2 separate regions of the Homo sapiens genome follow, and region 1 is linked to region 2. The links are contacts of gene promoters, found by promoter capture Hi-C in blood cells and fetal thymus (Javierre and others, 2016). All regions are on one chromosome and are shown on one strand. The core of a region is centred on a gene start or on the middle of the fragment in contact, and the rest is flanking DNA. Distances in the headings are between cores, read along the strand shown.

Region 1 (5,923 bases), core at 2,889-5,388, 1.3 Mb after region 2:
ACAGAGCGAGACTCTGTCTCAAAAAAAAAAAAAGAAAGAAAGAAAGAAAAAGGAATGATACGAAGGTACAAAAATACAAAGAGTAAATAAGAATCAGAGATTGGTTTGGTTAGAGTGGACAGCTCCTATAAAGAAATAGTGCTGGCACTGATTAAAAAAAAAGAAAGAAATAGTGCTGGCCCCAGAAAAACAGGTTTGAGCAGACTGTTATTAGGCTATGAATTCTGAACTATACTCTGAAGATAACAGAGAGTTATCACTGGTTTCCGAAAAGTGAAGGATGTGTTTGAAGCATAATTCTAAGATTTAGGAAGACATACTAAGTAGAGAGAAAAATCAAGCAAAAAACCCAATTAAAGGCTAGTGAGTAGTTCAAAGATAAAAATGGCTGGCAAAAATCAGCCAATATTGTTACACGCATAGAGATAAAACCAAAGTTTGTGTCTGGGTAATTGAAAGCATGGTAATGTCACCAAAACAAAGTCAGCATATGGAATCAGTTTTGAAGGGAAGACTATAAATTCTATCTTCATTAGAGTTTAAGGTGAGGATCAGCCAGACATAAAGTTTCCTTAAATCTTTAAATGTCATATTTAGCCTTGTTGTCTTCCTAACATCACAGTATTTATAGAGAATTTGTTAACTGCTCAGTGATTTCAAAAGTTCCCTTCAATTTTACTTATTAATGAAATAATCATTTAATTTTCTAGTGCAGATAAAGAACATTTGGTATTTTTCTATATTATAAAGGTAAATTCTAAAAATTATTAAACCATGATTTTAAAAATGAACTGTATCTGTATTCATTAAGTCAAGTCTTCCTGACAAGTGATTTATAATAATCACATCAAATATACCTTCAGCTTTGAAAAACACATGGTGAAAAAGTAAAATAAGACAAAGTAAAAGTACAAAGCAATGAAAATGTAAAACTCTAGAAAATTTTTGAAAAATGAATATAGGCCAGCCACGGTGGCGCACACCTGTAATCTCAGCACTTTGGGAGGCGGAGGTGGGCAGATTGCTTGAGGTCAGGAGTTCGAGACCAGCCTTGCCAACATGGTGAAACTCCGTCTCTACTAAAAATACAGGCCGGGCGTGGTGGCTCATGCCTGTAATCCCAGCACTTTGGGAGGCCGAGGCAGGTGGATCACGAGGTCAGGAGTTCAAGACCAGCCTGGCCAAGATGGTGAAACCCTGCCTCTACTAAAAATACAAAAATTAGTCAGGCGTGGTGGCAGGCGCCTGTAATCCCAGCTACTGGGGAGGCTGAGGCAGAGAATTGCTTGAACCCGGCAGGCAGAGGTTGCAGTGAGCCAAGATCCCGCCACTGCACTCCAGCCTGGGCAACAGAGTGAGACTCCGTCTCAAAAAAAAAAACAAACAAAAGAAAAAGAAAAATATATATATATACAAAAAAATTAGCTAGGCATGGTGGCACACACCTGTAGTCCCAGCTACTTAGGAGGCCGAGGCACAAGAATCGATTGAACCCGGGAGGCAGAGGTTGCAGTGAGCCAAGATCGTGCCACTGCACTCCAGCCTGGGCAACAGAGACTCTGTCTCAAAAAAAAAAAAAAAAAAGAAAAGAAAAAAACCCAGAACCATGAAGTATCACTAAGTATCTCTTTTCTTTATTATTTTCCTTTTTAAATTTTTTTATATTTTCTTAATTTAGAGACAGGGTATCACTACATTGCTTAGGCTGATCTCAAACTCCTGGCCTCCAGCTATCCTCCCGCCTTGGCCTCCCAAGTGCTGGGATTACAGGCTTGAACTACCCCGCCTGGTCTCCCTCAGTATCTAACAAAACATTACACATAGGTTTTTTTTGTTTCTGTTTTTTTTTTGTGTGTGTGTGACGGAATCTTGCTCTGTTGCCAGGCTGGAGTGCAGTGGCGATCTTGGCTCACTGCAACCTCCGACTCCCGGGTTCATGCAATTCTCCTGCCTCAGACTCCCGAGTAGCTGGGATTACAGGTGCGTGCCACCACGCCCGGATAATTTTTGTATTTTCAGTAGAGACGCGGTTTCACCGTGTTGGCCAGGCTGGTCTCGATCTCCTGACCTCGTGATCCGCCTGCCTCGGCCTCCCAAAGTGCTGGGATTACAGGCGTGAGCCACCGAGCCCGGCCAACATTACACGTAGGTTTCAAATTTTATTTAGATGGACCTGAAAGCACTGCAGAAACCTGGACAAAGGATAATGCCTAGAAAAATAAATACACATTTTATTTATTTTTTTGAGACGGAGTCTCGCTCTGTCGCCCAGGCTGGAGTGCAGTGGCGCGATCTCGGCTCACTGCAAGCTCCGCCTCCCGGGTTCACGCCATTCTCCTGCCTCAGCCTCCCGAGTAGCTGGGACTATAGGCGCCCGCCACCACGCCCGGCTACTTTTTTGTATTTTTAGTAGAGACGGGGTTTCACCGTGTCTGCTAGGGTGGTTTCAATCTCCTGACCTCGTGATCCGCCCGCCTCAGCCTCCCAAAGTGCTGGGATTACAGGTTTGAGCTACCCCGCCTGGACTCCCTCAGTATCGAACAAAACATTACACGTAGGTTTCAAATTTTATTTAGATGGACCTGAAAGCACTGTCAAAACCTGGACAAAAGATAATGCCTAGAAAAATAAGTACACATTTTAAAATTTAATACATGAGCCAACAGCTGAGTAGATGTGAACACTCTGCAAACTATGTTTATGGATATTACAGCCAATTTCCACAGATCACAATTTTCCCAAAGAAGTCTCAGAGTTTGTGGTCAAGATGAAAAGAAAGCACCATTTATCAACCAGTGCATATTACTATCAAGTTGTGAATGGGATGCCTATTTAAGAATATCACAGACTCCACCCCCCACAAGAAAATTAAGTGTTTTAAAAAGAAAAGAACGAATATTATTGACAATTACCAAACAAAACTTTCTTCTTAGGTTATTTCTCCGTTTACTGTGTGACCTCGCCGAAGGCTGAGAGTCTAGGCACACTGGTTTCCAGGTGCTGAAGAAATCGTTATAGTTGGTTTGTCATACGTCTATCAAAGTAAAATTTTAAAAATGAGTACCTTTTGGCAACACCCGTTTTGGGAGGACATTGAGCTGCTTTGCTCCCTACCCAAAGAGGAGTTAGGAAATTCTCTTTAACCTAATTCTTTCCTAATTTCTAGGGCTTCTTACCTAATCTAACGTGCATAATTATTTTCAGGTGACTCCGGGTCCATCAGTTTGACACCGAGAGCGTTCCTACGGTTACGTCCTCACCCCTGAACAAAACCCAGCTTCCTGAGCTTCTAACGGCGAATTTAACTTGTATGTTAATACAGAAGAAAGGTTACAAAACCTATCGAAATGGTTTTTTGTTTTACCAAACATATTACAACTCAAGTCAAAAGTTCACAGCCCCAGCAACTCGCGTACGAATCTGAAGCAGGTCCAGACCATTAAAGTCACAGCCCCAGACTAGAAAACGGCCGGTGGGTGGGGGGAGGGGAGAGGGCGCGTCCCGAAGATGTCCACCCGCAGCACCGCGCAGGCTGACGCCTCCCCTCCTCTCGGGCTGGAGGTGAGAGCGCCCTTCCTCCTACCACGTCCCTACCTTCCCGGCCTCGGATTACGCCACAGCTGGCAAAAGGACTTTTTCATGAGAAAACAGACAAGTCAACCAGCGCGCCGCACACTCGACCTCCCAGGCTCGCACGGGCGGCCGCCCGGGCTCTCAGCCCGACACAGCGCTCCAGGGGCTGACAAGGAGGCCGCGGGGTCACGCTCCCTGGGGCAACGGCCCGAGGGTCTCGCGGAATCCCGGTGCAGAAGTCTGGACCCTCCGAGCAGCCTCCGCGCCCCCTCCGGCTCGGCTCCGAGCCTGCAGACGGCGCCCCCGGGGCTAACTCAGCGCGAGAAGAGGAAGCGACGCAGCGAGTAACAGGCTGTATGGACGGACAGCGGACTGAAGGGGGGTGTGTGTGTGTCTGCCTGCCAACAAGGCCGTCTCACCTTCCCGCTGCCGAGCCGGGCAGCTCCAGCTCACCTGAGGAGGGCTCCAGGACGCCACTGCGGCCGCCGTGATGGCCGTAACGGCACGAGGCCTGCGCTCCGCCGCCGCCGCGTAGCTCTTGGGAGAGAGGCGGGGCACGCGCGGTGGGCAGGCGGATCCGCGCGGGCAGGAAACCCACTCTGGACCCAATCTGATAGGTTCAGTCGCCCCCTTCCCCGGTCCCTGACGCGACAACGGTCTCTGCCGCACTGGGATTGGGCGGGCCCTCATGTCAATCAAGCGCCGTGCCTGATGTGGAGGGAGCGGAGGCTGCGCGGCGGAGAGTAGAGAGCTAGAGGGTGAGAAGCGCTGGGCCGGACCAGAACTGTCTTAGCTTTTCCCTCTGCGGCTGCTCTGGTTGGTTACTTTGAGCCTGCCTCCTCAGCGCCGCAGGAGAGACTTAACAGCAAAAATGACTGTGTCCTGAGTTCAGCCCCCACTGCTCTGGGAGCTTCCCCCTGGTTTCTGCACCTGAAGAATGTCATCCCAGCCGAAGGTTCTTAGGAGCGGGGAGCGACAAAGAAAAACAAAGAAAAGCAGACCTGAAAATTGGGACCTGGGAGAAATGTAAGACATGTGCTTAATTTGAGGCACAGACCAAAAGAAGCTGAGTCTGAGGGCCCTCTAAAAGTGTCCTCGTGCTTGGGCAGCTTACATTCTTGGCGGCAGTAGTGTTATGAAGAGGACCTTCGGAGCCAGGTCTGTCCATTCTTAGGGCTCCAGCCACTGGCTGAGGCATCAGTAAGTTGGTTCTTCCCCTCGCCGGTGCTGCAGGCCCCCTTCCCCGCCCCCGCGCCGTAACCTGCCTCTTTTTTTTTTTTTTTTGAAACGAGTTTCGCTCTGTCGCCAGGGTGGAGTGCAGTGGCACGATCTCGGCTCACTGCAACCTCCGCCTCCGGGTTCAAGCTATTCTCCTGCCTCAGCCTCCCGAGTAGCTGGGATTACAGGCATGTACCACCACGCCCAGCTAATGTTTTTGTATTTTTAGCAGTGACGGGGTTTCACCAGGATGGTCTCGATCTCTTGACCTCGTGATTCGCCAGCCTCGGCCTCCCAAAGTGCTGGGATTACAGGCGTGAGCCACCACGCCCAGCCGCCTCATCTCTTCTTAACCATCTTTGTGGCACAGTTTAGGATCGCTCCTCAGGGAAGCTTGCTCAGTTAGGTACCTTCCTTGGAGCACAGGTGTTTTCTCCATCCGAGCTATTGAAATGGTTTGCCTGTATGTCTACCTAGATTGTAAACTCCGTTGAATCAGTAACCATGTCTGTTCAGTTTCTCCCTAGGGCCTTGCAGTAGGGTAGATGGTCAGTAAATACTGTTTAAGGCATTAATACTTTTTATTTTAATCCTGGCCCTGGATATCAGCCTCAAAAGTTTGCAGTTTTCTGCATTTAACTTCAAAATTATTTACGTGATTGGTAATGCATGCATGTGGTTGGCCTGTGCTGTAATTTAGATGTTTGTTCCCCTAAACCTCCTGTTGAAATTTGATCCCCAATGTTGGAGGTGGGGACTAATGGGCAGTGTTGGGTCATGGAGGTGGTTCCTTCAGGAATAGATTAATGTCCTCCCTGGGGAGAGGGTAAATGAGTTCTCTTTATTTCCACCAGAGCTGGTTAAAAAGAACGTCGCACTTCCTTTCTTCTTTTGCGTCCTCTCTGGCCATGTAATCTCTGCACACACCAGCTCTCCTTTGCCTTCTGGCATGAGTAGAAGCAGTCTTAGGCTACCATCAGATGCAGATGCTCAGTCTTGAACTTTTCCAGACATCAGAACCATAAGCCGAAAAACCTTTTCTATTTCTAAATTATCCAGCTTTGGGTATTCCTTTCTAGCAACACTAAAGGGACTAAGACAGCCTGCCATATGTAGGATCACAAGGTCAAGC
Region 2 (6,414 bases), core at 3,623-6,122:
ATAAAAATAATAACAGTATCAAATGGCAGTGAGGATACAGAGAAACAATGTCTCATATATTACTGGTAGAAATGTAAAATAGTACAGCCACTCTGGAAAAGTTTGTCAGTTTATTTTAAAATTAAACATGCATTTACCATCTGATCCTGCAATTGCACTCCTGGGCATTTAGCTCAGAGATATGAAAAGTTATGTCCTTACAAACCTGTACATGATTGTTCATACTACGTTATAATAGCCAAAAACTAGAAGCAACCAAAACGCCCAACAGGTAAATGGTTAAACGAGCTGTGGTACATCCACACCATGAAATACTACTTAACAATAAAAAGGAACTACTGCTACATACAACAATATGGATAGATCTCAAAAGCATTATACTGAGTGACAAAAAACAACCTCAAAAAGTCACATACTGTATGATTCCATTCATATGACATTATAGAAAATGACAACATTATAGAGATGGAGAACAGATTATGGTTGCCAGGGGTTAGGGATACCTGTTGCGGGGAGAGGCTGGGTAGGTGGGACTATAAAGAGGGAATATGAGGGAGATCTTTGCGGTGACGGAATAGTTCTGTATCTTGACAGTGGTGGTAATGGTAACACAAATAAACATGTGATAAAATGATACAGAAACAGATACATACTTATACCAAGATCAATTTCCTTGTTTTGATACTATAATGTAACTATATAAGATGTAACCTATGAGGGAAACTGGGTGAAGTGTACACAGGGACCTGTCTGTACTATCTTTGCAACTTCCTGTGAATCTATAATTATTTCAAAATAAATGTTTTTAAAAATGCAATCAACATAATTCAAAAGTATAGAAAACATTGCAGAAATTTATGAATTTGTTGAAAAGGGTGATGTTGTAATGTTAAATGCAAACCAAAGAGGGATGGGGTGGTCATAGTGCAGTCTAGAAACAGGGCTGGAGAGTTTGTCCAACCCTCCAAAATAGATAGTTCAATCAAACATTTACTGAGTACCTAGGATTTGCAAGACAAAGTGTTACTTCTGAATTAATTTACTCTCTAATACGACAAGATAGAGTATTATTAAAGACCTCTGCAAAAGCAGTTCCCTTTGCCTTGTATGCTCTTCTTCTGTCACTTTTTCTAGTTAGTTCTTACTTATCCTTGAACTTTCAGCTCAGCATCACTTCTTCAGGGAAACCTTCCCTAGTTCTTCCTATTGCCCTCCATATTAGATCAGTTTCCTCTATGACATGTTTTGAACAGCACCCTATATACTTCATTCATAATACTAATCACCATTCACAAACTGTGTGATTATTTGATATCTATTTTTCCCACTAGGCTAACATTTCCAAAAGGACAGAGGTCTGTGTAGCTTACGGCTGTATTCCCAAACTCAACACCATGCTTGCCTAGCAAATGGCAGAAGCTCAAAGTAGATGTACAGAATATATATATACAAAGTTAAAATTCATATGTACAAATGAGTAAGAAGAATAAGATTTACTGGAGTTTGGAAGAATTCTGTATCACTCTAACCTGAGAAAGCCGGTTTATACAGGATAGCAGGTTCATGTAGAAGATAAAGAATCTCGGCCGGGTGCAGTGGCTCACACCTGTAATCCCAGCACTTTGGGAGGCCAAGGTGGGTGGATCACTTGAGGTCAGGAGTTTGAGACCAGCCTGGCCAACATGGTGAGACTCTGTCTCTACTAAAAATACAAAAAAATTAGCCAGGCATGGTAGTGGATGCCTGTAATCCCAGCTACTCAGGAGACTGAGGCAGGAGAATCGCTTGAACCCCGGAGGCGGTGGTTGCAGTGAGTCGAGATTGCGCCACTGCACTCCAGTCTGGGCAACAAGAGCAAAACTCCATCTCAAAAAAAAAAAAAAAAAAAAAAGATAAGAAAATAAAGAATCTCAACTCTGAAGCTGAATATAAACTTGGGCCTTTGGGCAAAACAAATTCAATCAAGAAAAGAAACCGAGGAGCGGCTGTAGGAAGAGTTCTTTAGGAAAATTTAAGTAGACATGGACTTGCACTGAGAGTGTAAGACATTAAAGACAGTAAAAATAATTAAAAGGACGCTGTGGTAGTGCAGGCACAAAACAACAAAGTCCTGAATGAGGGTGGTCATGGGAAGAGAAAGATATAAGAAACACTAAGAATAAAGAAGCAACAGAGCTTAACAACTGGTAGATACAGGGGGATGAAAGGAGGAAGAATCAGAGATTATTCAGGAGGTTTAACAGTTACTTATCAGTGAAAGATAACACCATTAACAGAAATTGGGAACTCATAACTAATTCCCCTTAGGAGAAGGAATGTGCTTTATTGGAAGCGATGGGTGTCATCCACACAATTTAAGATGTAAGACTAGATGTAGAAGAAAGTCAAGGTTGGCAATGCAGATGTGTGAACTGATCAGTTAAGGGTACAGGAAAATCAATGAGATTTCCCAAGGAGAAGGTATAAAGAGACTCAAATGGAAATCCTTTAAAACAACTTGAATGCCTCCTTGCTGAAATTATGTTTATCAAATTATAGCGTCACCCAGACTATGAGCTCCTGAAACGCATTTCTGATCTCATCCTTGCATTCTCTAACGTATACAATACAGAGCTTGTACGTAACTGGTACATTGTAGCTTATTAAAGGAATCAACCATTCAAGATAATTTCTGATGAATGTTTCCTGTTCTAGTTTGCATTTCAAAACATGGTGCTCTGGGTAGTACTTTGAAAGGTACAGGTTTCACTTTAAATTAGTAAAATCAGTGAATTGAAACATTTTAAATCATTTATCCAAAAGCTCCTACTTCCCCAAGGCTCTAGGAGTGAAGATCTGATAGACCAGACTTTGGGACTACGGAAATCCTTTTTTTTTAATTAAAGAAAAAAAAAAGCCCCTAATGAGACTAGGGCTAAAGGCAAATCCTAAATAGAAGTATTAATAGAAAATACTCTTCAAGAAGTTTTTGAATAAAATAAGCAGAAAATATTATTTACCAAGGAAGTGAAACAAATGAAAACTTTCAATCATATGCATTATACAAGTTGACAACATCCAAAAAGTAAACTTCAGGTGAACTGAAGGATAAATGAAATCTAAATGAATAATTAAAGGAGAACTGAGAACAGCCAAGACACATACTATTTTTTTTTAACATAATGAGGTAAAAGTCATTGGCCTGCACTCCCACAGAATATTCCTGGGTATTACAGTCAGTGATGGAGTAACAGGCTAATCTGATCTAATACTTAGGTAAACAGTATTTCCTTAGTTGCAGTTTAAAAATAAGAAAAAATGACTGCTAAAATGGATCAGGGGAAAAATCTGTTGACAGCCTCACAAAATTATTATTGTATTGACAACTTAAGCCTTTTCAAGGTTGAGGTCTGCCACACTGCTCTAACCCTGAATCATAAGCAAATGTCCTAGGTGTTTTCAGATAGGTGAGTTTGTTTGTGGGACAAGTCAGAGAAGAGAAAAGAAACCGGTTGTAGTTACAAGACTCTAGGAACCCGACAAGTCATTTATAATCCAACTACCCTCTCAGTATCAGACTGGCTTCCACAAGTCTAAAAGATGGTCAATCAGTATTTGCCTGCTTGTTTCCAACAATAGCAAATGAACCATTGGTAAACTGACCATTCTCAGAGTCGGACAGCTCGAATTTGTTGCAAAATCCTTCGAAGTTATCTCCCAGTAACTTTCATTCCTGGTCCTGGTTCAAGAGCAACATAGTGAAAGGTGAAAGTCGTCTTTTTCTTTAAAAAAACTTTTTTTAAAAAAAAAAAAAACAGGTTTTACTTCCTGGCATGTCAATACGTTCCCTTCTTTCAACAATGGGGAAATAAATCTCACCCCCTTTTCCCCCCTTCAATGTTTGACTCCCCTTAAAGAAAAACGGAATACCAGGCACAGGGAACATAGAGTTCCTCTGACTCAGAGCCGCGACCTCTGAGCAGAGCGGAGGAAAGGGGCTTAAAAAACCACACACACTAGGAAGAGTTGCAGCTGATACGAATCACCATTGCCAAAAAGCAAACTGCTTCAGCCGGTGCCCAGGTGCTGGGACGCGATAGAAGCCGCACAGACTTGGCCTGGCAGCTCTGAGGAAATGGGGGCCAAGGAGCCTGCACCTCTTCTTGCCAAAGCCCGGGAGAGCTGAGTGGGCGCTCGTTCTCAGGCCGGCTGCAAGCCCGGCGCTTCACAAGGCAGAGCGTTCGGCCCCCGGGAAGCGGCATCGCTAAAAGGAAGGCTCAGTGAAACGCTTGGCAAAGTCCAAGCCGCGCCGCCCAGCCAGTTGTCTATAAGCCCAGCCACCCCGCCTGCCAGACGCCATCCTGGGAACCCGCACCGGCGGGAGCTCCCGGAGTTGGAAACGTCTTTGGCTCGGCCGCGGTCCCCTCTGCCCGTCTATCCCGCCTCTCCACCCTCGCTCACTCCCTGGCCCGAGACTGAGCCGGGGTCCACCCCAGGGGGTGGTGCCCAGGAGGCACACCACGCTTGGGGGAATGGTGGAGACCGGGATGAGGCTTCCTGGAGGGCGGGCGGGCGGCCGCGGCGGGTCACTCACCGAAAGGACGCTCATGCGGATTGGGGTCTCCAACAAGCACGCCATCTTGAGCCTTCCCACCCGGCTGCTGCAGGCGCCGGCGCGGGGGCCGGCACTTTCGACAGCCAACTATTGGCCAACGCTAGGCACCGCTCCCTAAAGGCAGCCAGATAGACGAGAACTGGCCACGCTCTGGACACCGCTCAAGTACCGGAAAGGCCCGCAGAAAGAAGGGCAAAAGGGAATGGCGTCAGGGGCTGTCCTACGAATCGTTCTCTCAGAAACAGCAGCTACTCTGAGCCTGGGTTAGAGGTGGAAGCGGGCAGCGGTTTCCGCATGCGCAAAGAAGATCTGCCGGCCCCACCTGCCGCTCGCGGTGGGCGGGGCCCCAGAGGCGGAGTCTCGCCCTGACGCTACGAGTTTTACGGACTGATAAATTGCAGTTTATGGATTCCAGTATTCATATTTGGAAAAAGTAGTACGTGGAGCCACATACATAGTTTGAAGTTCACTTTCATATTCATTCTCTCTCTCTGCACCAAACTCCCGGCGTCGTTATCTCCATTTTATAGGTGGGGAAATTGCGATCCCAGAACCTTTGCCAACCGTAAGAGTGATTGTTTCACGATCCGATACAGATACGTGACTTGCCTTAGCGTTGTGTGCCGGCCCCGTTTATTCTGGTGTAGTGTTAAGAATAGCCAGAATGCTTGGGTTTCTTCCTAGCTACTTGATTTATCAGCTGCTTTACCCTGGGCAAGTTATCTAACCTTCTGTTTGAGTTTCCTCATCTATAAAATAAAGGTTAATGAGGATAGAGGAGTCAACAAACGTGAAGCTCTCAGAAAAAACCTAGAACATAGAAAGCGTTATACAATATGTGTTAACATTTCTCCAGCTTCTGAGTTAAGTGGGGAAAATGGGGGCAAATATCTAAATATTTCGCACTAAAACACTCTCATAACCGAAGCTAAATAAAAGTATGCTTTCAATTATACTTGATTAATTCAGCTGTCCTACTACTTTGTGTGTGTGTGTGTGTGTGTGTGCAACACTGCCCTTGACTTGGTTGGATAAGTTTCACCTTCGTACTGCTTGCAACCAGTAAGGTTTTCACAGTATGGTTGCAATTGGCCTGTTAACATTACTTGTATTCCTTCCATTTCTATAGCCACACCCTAATTCAGGCTCTTGTAACCTCTCCCCTGGACTACAGCAATAGCCTTCCAACTGGTCTTGTAGCTGGTAGCCTCTCCCGCACTCTGCTCCTCACTGTTTTCCTGTCTTCCTCCTGTACTTGGTTTCCAAATTTAGTGTAGCATTTACCACCCCTGCTTATGGGTCTGTGTTCCTTAACAAACTGTTGAATTCCTGGAAGGCAGGAATTTTATTTTAGGTAGTCCTTCTGCTATAATACTATTTCTGAAACTTGGGTAATCTGTACACCACCTACACAATCTTTGCCAATCTGCACCTAGGTATTATTATTCATTCAATATTTTTATTTAAAGCCAATTTCAACTCATTAAAAATTTTTGGCTTTATCCTAAACCATAATACTCTGTGAAATCAAGTTTGTTGTGCTCCTTATTTTTATTCTAGTACACATTAACTACAAAAAGTTTAAATGTCCATCCATGGACCACCTAAAATCACATCATGTACTGCATACTGCAATGGGGCAGAACATAACCCTAATACATAGTATATAGAGTCATTATAACTGTATTTGATCCACACTCCATCCATTAGCTCAAGCAATACATCCTCCAGGAATTGTCTCCCCCAGGCATGGGTTAGATACCCTTTCCCCCATGCCTTCATACTTCACTTTAATTGTAGGGTGGTTTTGTTGTTGTTAA

Evidence for each region. Contacts are between HindIII fragments. The CHiCAGO score rates a contact against its expected background, and 5 or more counts as called.
Region 1: a contact is called between the fragment with the promoter of NCK1 here and the fragment with the promoter of ARMC8 in region 2, in 1 of 17 cell types (naive CD8 T cells). The highest score is 6.1, in naive CD8 T cells.

What each region holds. Positions count from the first base shown.
Region 1 is chr3:136,860,423-136,866,345 of GRCh38, reverse strand. NCK1 (NCK adaptor protein 1) reads right to left here and starts at 4,138. Exons shown (of 4, transcript NM_001291999.2): 1 at 3,993-4,138. It overlaps NCK1-DT (NCK1 divergent transcript), which reads left to right and starts at 4,283. Exons shown (of 3, transcript NR_110177.1): 1 at 4,283-4,599. RefSeq lists enhancers at 3,270-3,389, 3,400-3,479, 4,540-4,599, 5,160-5,209 and a silencer at 4,120-4,179. The HindIII fragment of the contact is 9,923 bases long and covers 1-5,186 here.
Region 2 is chr3:138,185,759-138,192,172 of GRCh38, reverse strand. ARMC8 (armadillo repeat containing 8) reads right to left here and starts at 4,872. Exons shown (of 22, transcript NM_001363941.2): 1 at 4,574-4,872. The coding sequence starts at 4,618. The HindIII fragment of the contact is 21,816 bases long and covers 1-6,414 here.